Regions from separate parts of the Homo sapiens genome. Here all the other regions are linked to region 1. The links are contacts of gene promoters, found by promoter capture Hi-C in blood cells and fetal thymus (Javierre and others, 2016). All regions are on one chromosome and are shown on one strand. The core of a region is centred on a gene start or on the middle of the fragment in contact, and the rest is flanking DNA. Distances in the headings are between cores, read along the strand shown. Region 1 holds the start of OCLN (occludin). Region 2 holds the start of CENPH (centromere protein H). Region 3 overlaps CENPH (centromere protein H).

Region 1 (3,417 bases), core at 595-3,094:
CCGTCACCTAACAAAGGAGGCCCCTAATAACTAAATAAATTGCAAAACGACCAAAAAAAAAGTGTTGCTTTGTTTGAGGAAATATCTCTGCCTCCCACACACACTTAAGATGTCTATTTTAAAGCACCACTAAGAAAATATTCATAAAGGCTGGGTGTGGTGGCTTACGCCTGTAATCCCAGCACTTTGGGAGGCCAAGGCGGGCGAATCACCTGAGGTCAGGAGTTCGAGACCAGCCTGACCAAATGGCAAAACCCTGTCTCTACTAAAAATACAAAAATTAGCTGTGCATACTAGTGGGTGCCTGTAATCCCAGCTATTCGGGAGGCTGAGCAGGAGAATCGCTTGAACCCGGGAGGCAGAGGTTGCAGTGAGCCCAGATGATGCCACTGCACTGGGGGACAGAGCCAGACTCCGTCTCGGAAAAACACACACACACACACACACAAGCACCTCATATGTACAGTGCAAAAGAACTACTGTTACTATTGTTACACTTGGGAACGCCTAGTTTTCTATCACACCAAGAATCACCAAAAAACACCATAAGTGCCTTCATGGGAAACGTTTCTCTTTTCCAGGTATCCCAATAATACACCTGTTGCCTAAGGGCCACACACTGACTGGCCTGGAAAGCCGCCGCCTCCTCCTCGAGCAGGGTAATTCCCCAAGCGGGCAGTGTGGCCAGCGAGCCCCGGGTCCGGCCTAAGGATGCCGCGGCTTTTCCCTCGGGCCCGGTGGCTTCCCGAGGAGCGCGAGGGGCTCGGCGCCGCTCCCAACCCCTAGGCGCAGAGGCCATCTTGGCCCTCGACCCCTGCTCCCCGCACGCTTCCTCCGACGCAGGCAACATGGCTGGCGCGCGGGGCCGGCCCAGTCCCGGAGGTCCCCAAACTCCGTGGCCCGGCTGGGCGCGGGTCCCGGCTTCCGTGCGCACCGAGGCGCTCCCAGGCAGCGCGCGCCCACGTTCGCCGGGCAGGCACCGCCCGGAGGCAGTTCCGCCCCCCTGGGGGCAGCCCTTTTGGTCACGGATGAGAATCCGAAGCGTGAGCAGCTTCCCTCGAAGTCCAGCCTCACTCGAAATTAACTCCCCGCCCCCCAGCTTAAATCGACGCGGGTTCACACAACTCGCAACAAGTGGATTCGAAGTAGCCAGTGTGGCCCACACCGTGACTCCTGGAATATTTCACAGATTGAATCCAGCCCCCGTCTCCCCGGGATATCCAAAGGGGTGGGGTGGGAGCGGAAGGAATGAAATTCCCCCCGGGATCTAAGCCGCCCGGGCCGCCGAACAGCCGCCTCGCTGCAGCCTCAGGCTTAGGACCCCCAAGGAGCTGGGCGCAGGATCCCTCTCCATGAAGGCCGCCCCCCCAAACTGCAGCCCCAGAGCGGATGCAGGATCGTCGCTGTTCAGGAATGTCGTGCCCCATAAAAGTGAAAAGTTGCCCGCGCCGCTGAGGCACTGCTAGCTTTCAGCGTTTCCGCGGAATAAAGCTTGATCGGCGGCTCCAAGCCACCCCTCGCCCCAGGAGGCAGCCTCCCAAGTTGGCCGGTGCTGCTCTCTCCGCAGACCCGCGCCTCTCTGGTTCCCACGAGTCCCAGCTCGGGGACGAAACTGCCACCGAAACCAGCGCGGAGCGTCCTCCCCCCGGCACCTCCCCTAACATAGTCGCCGCGGTCCCCCCACGGGGACCCTCGGGCTCCCGTGCGCCCCTGACGCCGCGCCCAACACTCACCCGCTCGCCGCAACTGGGCCCGACCCTCCGGGGGCCAACGGTGCCAGGGAGCGCGCTCACCTGGCGGGCGCACCTGACGCCGCACCGACCGCCAGCGCTCAGCCGGGGACTGGGCTGGGGACGTCTCCTCCCCCTTCTCCCTCTCCTTTCCCTCCTCCCTACAACCGGCCCTGCCCCCGGGCATGCGCACCAACGTGGAAGGGGGTGCGGGAAGCCTGCGGGCCAGCGCCGCGAGTCCCACCTGCTGCGTCCTAGACCGGCTCCTCGGCGCTCTGGACCTGGCTCTCGGTTCCTGCCGCCTCCGCCAGAGGAAGCAGGGAGGGAGAGGTGGACGCGGGAGTGTAGGTGTGGTGTGTCGGCCTCCTCCCTCGGTGACCAATTCACCTGAAACTCGGATGGGAGGGGGCGGGAGGACGCGGTCCTGCTTCCCACACCCTGCCAGCGCGCTGTTAAAGGAACCGCGCGACGTTGCGGCCCGAGAGGCGGGGCGCAGAGGAGAGGCGCGGGCTCCTAGGGGGCAGCACGGATGGGGGTCCCTGACCACCCCGGGGTGCGTTCGGTGCTCCGCCTGCTTCGGATGGAACCTTGGGGTGTCTGATGGAGAGAGGCCGAACGAGGTCCAGAGGGGACTGTTTCCTCCGGAAAGAGGGTCCAGGCACTCAGCACTTTGATAGGAAAGGCACGTCCTCACAGGACACTTTTCTGCTTCCAGAATTTGATTAAACTGTTGCTGGAAAAAGGCATCTAGATGTATTGCTCCAACGAAAGACTCCTGGGAAAATTTCAAAAGTCGTGTGTAAACATTGGCGCTGTTTCTGAATCTCTAGATTCAGAATAAGAGACAATTACTTAGAGGGGTTAAAATGAGGGTGAACTACTGTAGGTGTTAGTTGCCATCCAGCAGGCTAAAGTGCATAATACAGTTTACACATCACCACCCCAGGGTCCTCTCCTGCCCACCCGGTCCGCTCTTGAGGACCGGGAAATTTAAACTATTATGGCTCTTTGGCCTGAGAAAAAGCACCTTATACGTTGTTTACCAACCTGTAGTGCTTTAAGAACAACACTACTTAAAAAGCAAAATAAACTTGGTTTACTTTTTTTTTTTTTTTAAGAAAACGAAAAAGCACCTTAGTTCCGGGTGCTGTATTCTATTTCTTGATCTGGATTCTGTTTCCAAGGGAAATTTCATAGTCTGCACTTAACACTGTGTATATTTTTATGTATGTTGGTTGTTTTTCAACATATTTTTTAATTGTACTCCAGGATGTGGCAATTATAGTTCTTGGCATTTAACTATCTGCATTGAAAGCGAACTTTTAGGTTTCTTACATCCTGCTTGTCTTTGTGTTCCAATCTGGAATGTCAGCATTGCTAATAAATTTCTATCCAATCCCACCCACTTCTCTACCTTTAATTAAATGGTTAGAGATGTGACTCTCCCATACATTAGATCTTAAGGCACAATTCATACTTGAGGAAGTAAAAGCACTATATAAATATGAGGTATTTCAGATGATGGCAGCTTTAATGGGTAATTAATTTAATTGGTATTTTTTTCGTGGAAGTCATTGCTACAAATGCTTTAATATGACTATGTAGTTTTTGAATGATGCAGTTTAAATTGGTATTGTTAACACTGGGGAAGTCAGGTTAATCCCCTTAATGTTCCCTGTCAGATTAC
Region 2 (3,417 bases), core at 512-3,011, 300 kb after region 1:
AGATGGGGTTTCACCGTGTTAGCCAGGATGGTCTTGATCTCCTGACCTCGTGATCCACCCGCCTCGGCCTCCCAAAGTGCTGGGATTACAGGCGTGAGCCACCGCACCCGGCCGCTTAAGATTATTTTTAATAGGCCAGACTGAACTGAGGATGCTATACAAAGAATAGACCAAAATGATTAAACCCCAAACCACTGTATTTACAAACACAGATTTTTATCAGGAGATACAGAAAAATAACAAAGATACTAATCCTTGGATTACTAATTCATATAGTTTTTCAGTTGTTCTATAAATCCAAAAATCATACATAAGTAGAAAAACTATGAGCAAATGGTAATTTAAGATGACAGCAAGGGTGAGGAGGAAAAAACAATAAAAAAGAAATAGACATCTTTTCATTTTTCAAAACATTTAAGAAAGAAAAAAATGGTAATTAATTTTTTTTTTTTGAGTCAAGAGTCTTGCTCTATTGCCCAGGCTGGAGTGCAATGGCACAATCTTCTGCTCACTGCAACCTCTGCCTCCCGGGTTCAATCAATTCTCTTGCCTCAGCCTCCTGAGTAGCTGGGATTACAGGCGCCCGCCACCACGCCCAGCTAATTTTTGTATTTTTAGTAGAGACGGGGTTTCACCATGTTGGCCATGGTTGGCCAGGCTGGTCTTGAACTCCTGACTTAAGGTGATCCGTCTGCCTCGGCATCCCAAAGTGTTGGGATTACAGGCGTGAGCCACCGCGCTCAGCCAATAATGATTTTTTTAAAACTACCTCTGTTATGATATAGAACAGAGGACCGCAAATTTTTTTCTGTAAAGGACCTGATAGTAAATTTTTTAGGGTTTGTGAGTCACACGGTCTCTGTTTTAGCTACTCAATTCCACCCTTGTGGCAGGAAAGTTGTACTCCAATAAAACTGTTTATGGAAACTGAAACTTGAATTTCTAATAGAGTTCACGTGTTATGAAATATTTTTATGATCTTTTCCCTGCAACACTTAAACATAAAAACTATTCTTAGCTTGAGTGGTCACACAAAAATAGGCAGTTAGGCAGATTTGGCCCAGGACCTTCTCCTGCTCACTAGTTTAGAAGACGAATGTCCCTTCTCATCGAATCTTCCCCAGCAACCGCTTAGTGGAAAAGTATAAACACCGTCCGCTTAGTAGAATTTATAACATATAAAGCTTCTGGGTTACAAAGGGTCGTAGTTCTAAAAGAAATGGTAGGGGCACCTTCCTTCCAGTTTAGCTCTGGCATTCAATTTGTCTGTAAACCAGAGAGGTAGGGGGAGGGCGGGGAAACAGGAGGAGAAATTACAGCTTCTAAGGGCCCGGGGCACTGTGCTCAACACTTTCCTAGACTATCTCATTTAACCCTTGTAACCTCTCTCCAGGGGGTCATTTTTCTCTCCTTTTCGCTGATGAAGAAAGAGCTTCAACAGTTTAAGTGAATGAGGCAATCACGGAGACCTGACGTGACCGAGCGTGAATTCGAACCCTAGCCCTTCTGAGCAAGGGCGGAGTTCCGGGCCACAACGCCCACTTGGCCCCGGCTGAGGAGGCCAAAGGGAACAACCTGAGGAGCAGGGTCATGCGGTCCTCGCTGCACGCCGCCTGGGCGCCGGCGACCTGCGGTGGCCCGCCTGCCCGGCCTTCCCCTCCGGAGTCCGCGGGCTCGTCGGCGTCTTGCATCTGGGGCTGCTCCTCCATTGCTGGTTGAGGGGAAAGGCTACCACTCAACAGGCAAACGCGCTCAGAAAAGGTCGCTTTTCCCGCCACTAAATGGACGCCGGGAAAAGGCCCGAGGGCCCCGCCCCTTCCGCCCAGGGCCCCACCCTTTCCGCCTTGTTTTTCGGTTGCCGTGGTTACTACGGGCTCCTCTTTCATCCGGGCTCTACTGGTGAAAATAACTGCAGACGGCTGGTAAAAAGTTGGAATAGCTTTCGTTAAGCGTCGGATGTGTAGAGTGCTGAGTTAGGGGCTGGACTAGAGACGTTGGGACATCTCCCGGGAACAGCAGCCTGGAGGGGAAAAATCTCCTGACCTAAGTGGTCATTCGGCCTTGGCGCTTGGACACGGGAGTGCGGCGACAGCCATATGTCCATCCATCTTGGCACTTTTCCGTCCTCTGCCTTTGAAGATGGGTGTGCCCGGCAGGCTGTGAAAGATAAACATTAGAGGGTTGTTTAGAAGACTTTTTTGACCTGAGCCCATGAGGTGCATACCCTTTGTTTGGCGGAGAAACCAGTGGCTTCTGAAGATCAGGGACGGGCCACAAGTGCGAGGCATTGCAGACATTTCGAACCCAGACTTCCAGCCTGGAGACATCCACACGCTTCCAGTTTCTTGCACTGGTACTTCATTCTGTCATTATGATTGCCACCACTCGTAACTGAGAGTTGCGTGCCCTCAAGTTTTGAGTGTCTGCAGGGTACCTTTGAGCTTTCTTAGCTGTGTAGTGAGTGGGGGGAATGGAGAAAATGAAGGACAGATGACTGATTTGTAGTTTTTCATTTGGACACTGTCCTTGCCGCACAAGCACAGCAGCTTGAACCTCTTTGAACAAGAGTCGAGAGTTCTTTTACAGCTAATTACCCACTAGTTAAACTTGATCATACTGTGCTGTTTTCTTCCTCTCCATTGTCAATGTAATACGGCTCCTGACAAAAGTTAAATTCGCTGGGCGTGGTGGCTCACCCCTGTACTCCCAGCACTTTGGGGGCTGAGGCGGGTGGATCACCTGAAGTCAGGAATTCAAGACCAGCCTGGCCAACATGGTGAAACCCCGTCTCTACTAAAAATACAAAAGTTAGCTGCGTGTGGTGGCGGGCGCCTGTAATCCCAGCTACTCAGGAGGCTGAGGCAGGAGAATCGTTTGAACCCGGGGGGGCGGAGGTTGCAGTGAGCTGAGATCGCGCCACTGCACTTCAGCCTGGGTGACAGAGTGAAACTCCGTCTCAAAAAAAAAAAAAAAAGCCGGGCGCTGTGGCTCACACCTATAATCCCAGCACTTTGGGAAGCCGAGGGGGGAGGATCTCGAGGTCAGGAGTTGGAGACCAGCCTGACCAACATGGAGAAACCTCGTCTCTACTAAAAATACAAAATTAGCCAGGCGTGGTGGTGGGCACCTGTAATCCCAGCTACTGGGGAGGCCGAGGCAGGAGAATCCTTTGATCCCGGGAAGCAGAGGTTGCAGTGAGCCGAGATCACACCAGAGATGCACGCCAGCCTGGGCAACAGAGCAAGATTCCTTCTCGAAAAACAAACAAACAAACAAAAAAACAGTTCAAAAGACACAGAATGGACTGGTGGCGATGGCCCACGCCTGTAATCCCAGCACTTTGGGAAGCCAAAGCGGAAGGATCGCTTGAAGTCAGGAGAACAGCCTGGGCAGCATAGTGAGACCTCGTTTCTACTT
Region 3 (3,417 bases), core at 338-2,837, 290 kb after region 1:
AACATTTATTTTATTATTATTTTTTGAGATGGAGTCTCACTGTTGCCTAGGCTGGAGTGCAGTGGTACAATCTCGGCTCACTGCAGCCTCCGCCTCCCAGGGGTTCAAGTGATTCTCCTGCCTCAGCGTCCTGAATAGCTGGGATTACAGGCGCCCACCACCACACCTGGCTAATGTTTGCATTTTTAGTATAGATAGGGGTTTTGCCACGTTGGCTGGGCTAGTCTCCAACTCCTGACCTCCAGTGATCCACCCGCCTCGGCCTCCCAAAGTGCTGAGATTACAGGCGTGAGCCACCGCGCCCGGCCAAGGAATCTTACTTTTCATTTAAAATTAATCTTATTTGGCCAGGCACGGTGGCTCACACCTGTAATCCCAGCACTTTGGGAGGCCGAGGTGGGCGGATCACCTGAGGTCAGGAGTTCGAGACCAGCCCCGCCAACATGGCGAAACCCCATCTCTATGAAAAATACAAAAATTAGCTGGGCATGGTGACATGTGCCTATAATCCCAGCTACTCAGGAGGCTGAGGCAGGAGAATCACTTGAACCCAGAGGCAGAGGTTGCAGTAAGCTGAGATTGCACCATTGCACTCCAGCCTGGGCAACAAGAGTGAAACTCTGTCTCAGGAAAAAAAAAAAAGTAAGATTCCCCTCTCCAGGGATAAACATCATCAATCATTTTTTGTATTACTGGAAATAGTCTAAGAATTAAACTACTTGGAAATATAAATGGATGTATTTCAGGGGCCTGTTCTTCAACATTAATGTATATTAAAGGAGGTTGGAATGCAGTGGAGAAAATGAATCATCAAAAGGGTATAGCCTGAGCATGGGTGGCTCATTCTTATAATTCCAACACTTTGGAAGGCTGAGGCAGGAAGATTGCCAGAAGTTCGAGACCACCCTGGGAAACATAGCAAGACCCTGATTCTACTTAAAAAAACATGGGGGAATAGACAAGATGACCAATACTACTAATGACCCTGAGATTATTTGCTAACAGGCAAATCTATATAATGTTTACAAATGACAAATCTGAGCAGGGTGCAGTGACTCATGCCTGTTATCAGCACTGTGGGAGGCTGAGGAGGGTGGATCACCTGAGGTCAGGAGTTGGAGACCAACCTGGCCAACATGATGAAACCCGTCTCTACTAAAAATATAAATCAGTGGGGCATGGTGGCAGGCGCCTGTAATCCCATGTAATCCCAGCTACTCAAGAGGCTGAGGTAGGAGAACTGCTTGAACCTGGGAGACAGGGGTTGTAGTGAGCCGAGATCACGCCATTGCACTCCAGCCTGGGTGACAAGAGCGAAACTCCATCTCAATAAAAACAAACAAACAAAACACCGGCTGGGCACGGTGGCTCATGCGTATAATCCCAGCACTTTGGGAGGCCGAGGTGGGTGGATAACCTGAGGTAGGGAGTTCGAGACCAGCCGGACCAATGTGGAGAAACCCCGTCTCTACTAAAAAGACAAAATTAGCTGGGAGTGGTGGCGGGCGCTTGTAATCCCAGCTACTCGGGAGGCTGAGGCAGGAGAATCGCTTGAACCTGAGAGGCGGAGGTGCAGTGAGCCGAGATCACGCCATTGCACTCCAGCCTGGGCAACAAGAGAGAAATTCCGTATAAAAAAAAAAAACCCAACCAACAAATCTGGCCAGGCACAGTGGATCACAGGATCCCGTCTGTAATCTTAGCACTTTGGGAGGCCAAGGTGGGCAGATCACTTGAGCCCAGGAGTTCTATACCAGCCTGTGTAACATGGTGAATGAATCCTGTCTCTATAGAAAAATAAATTTAAGAAATCTACAGAAAAAAAGGCCGGGCATGGTGGCTCATGCCTGTAATCCCAGCACTTTGGGTGGTCGAGGAGGGCGGATCACGAGGTCAGGAGATGGAGACCATCCTAGCTAATATGGTGAAATCCGGTCTCTACTAAAAATACAAAAAAATTAGCCGGGCGTGGTGGCGGGTGCCTGTAGTCCCAGCTACTCAGGAGGCTGAGGCAGAAGAATGGTGTGAACCCGGGAGGTGGAGCTTGCAGTGAGCTGAGATAGTGCCACTGCACTCCAGCCTGGGCGACAGAGCGAGACTCCGTCTCAAAAAAAAAAAAAAAAAAAAAAAAGATATCTACAGAAAAAAAACAATTAGCCAGGCATGGTGGCATGCACCTGTAGTCCCAACTATCAGGGATGCTGAGGTGAAAGGATTGCTCGAGTCCAGGAAGTTGAGGCTGTAGTGAGCCATGAGTGTGCCTCCAGCCTGAGTAACAGAACAAGACCCTGTCTCAAAAAACAAAAAGGCCGGTCACAGTGGCTTACGCCTATAATCCCAGCACTTTGGGAGGCAGAGGCGGGGAGAACACTTTGAGGTGAGGAGTTCGAGACCAGCCTGGACAACATGGTGAAACCCTGTATCTACTAAAAATACAAAAATTAGCCAGGCGTGGTGGCACGCCTGTAATCCCAGCTACTCGAGAGGCTGACGCAGAAGAATGGCTTGAATCCAGGAGACAGAGGTTGCAGAGAGCCAAGATCGCGCCACTGCACTCCAGCTTGGACAACAGAGCGAAACTATTTCAAAACAAAAACAAACAAACAAAAAAAGGTTGGCCAGGCGAGGTGGCTCATGCCTGTAATCCCAGCACTTTGGGAGGCTGAGGTGGGTGGATCACGAGGTCAGGAGATCAAGACCATCCTGGCTAACATGGTGAAACACCGTCTCTACTAAAAATACAAAAAATTAGCTGGGCGTGGTGGCGGGTGCCTGTAGTCCCAGCTACTCAGAAGGCTGAGACCGGAGAATCACTTGAATCCAGGAGGTGGAGATTGCCATGAGCTGAGATCGCACCACTGCACTCCAGCCTGGGCGACAGAGGGAGACTCCATCTCAAAAAAAAAAAAAAAAAGAAAAAGAAAAAAAATGGCTGGGTGCGATGGCTCATACCTGTAATCCCAACACTTTGGGAGGCAGAGGTGGATGAATCACGAGATCAGGAGTTCAAGACCAGCCTGGCCAAGACAGTGAAACCCTGTCTCTACTAAAAATACAAAAAATTAGCCAGGCATGCTGGTTGGCGCATGTAATCCCAGCTACCCGGGAAGCTGAGGCAGAGAATTTCTTCAACCCGGGAAGCAGAAGTTGCAGTGAGCCGAGATTGCAGCACTGCACTCCAGCCTGGGTGACAGAGCAAGACAGCATCTCACAAAAAAAAAAAAAAAAAAAAAAAAGAAATACAAGCCAGGTGTGGTAGCTCATGCCTGTAATCCTAGCACTTTTGGGAGTCCAAGGCAGGAGGATCGTTGAGGGCAGAAGTTCAAGACAAACCTGGGTAACACAGCAAGATTCGATGTCAACAAAAAACAAAAAAGTTAGCTGGGCATGGTGGAGTGCACTTGTATTCCCAGCTAC

What was found. The method cuts DNA at HindIII sites, captures the fragments that hold promoters and counts their contacts. A CHiCAGO score of 5 or more calls a contact.
Region 2: a contact is called between the fragment with the promoter of CENPH here and the fragment with the promoter of OCLN in region 1, in 2 of 17 cell types (neutrophils and erythroblasts). The highest score is 10.5, in neutrophils.
Region 3: a fragment that was not itself captured here is called in contact with the fragment with the promoter of OCLN in region 1 in 1 of 17 cell types (neutrophils); the score reaches 5.4 in neutrophils.

The regions. Positions count from the first base shown.
Region 1 is chr5:69,491,217-69,494,633 of GRCh38, reverse strand. OCLN (occludin) reads right to left here and starts at 1,844. Exons shown (of 9, transcript NM_001205254.2): 1 at 1,734-1,844. The HindIII fragment of the contact is 10,406 bases long and covers 1,494-3,417 here.
Region 2 is chr5:69,187,927-69,191,343 of GRCh38, reverse strand. CENPH (centromere protein H) reads right to left here and starts at 1,761. Exons shown (of 9, transcript NM_022909.4): 1 at 1,576-1,761. The coding sequence starts at 1,709. It overlaps LOC112267932 (a long non-coding RNA gene), which reads left to right and starts at 1,867. Exons shown (of 2, transcript XR_002956215.2): 1 at 1,867-2,353. RefSeq lists a silencer at 1,710-1,829 and enhancers at 1,688-1,982, 1,910-2,149. The HindIII fragment of the contact is 12,435 bases long and covers 1,187-3,417 here.
Region 3 is chr5:69,204,417-69,207,833 of GRCh38, reverse strand. The region is part of intron 7 of CENPH (centromere protein H); the gene reads right to left. Among named protein-coding and RNA genes, the nearest start is that of KGD4, 12 kb to the left of the region's middle. The HindIII fragment of the contact is 3,917 bases long and covers 1-3,417 here.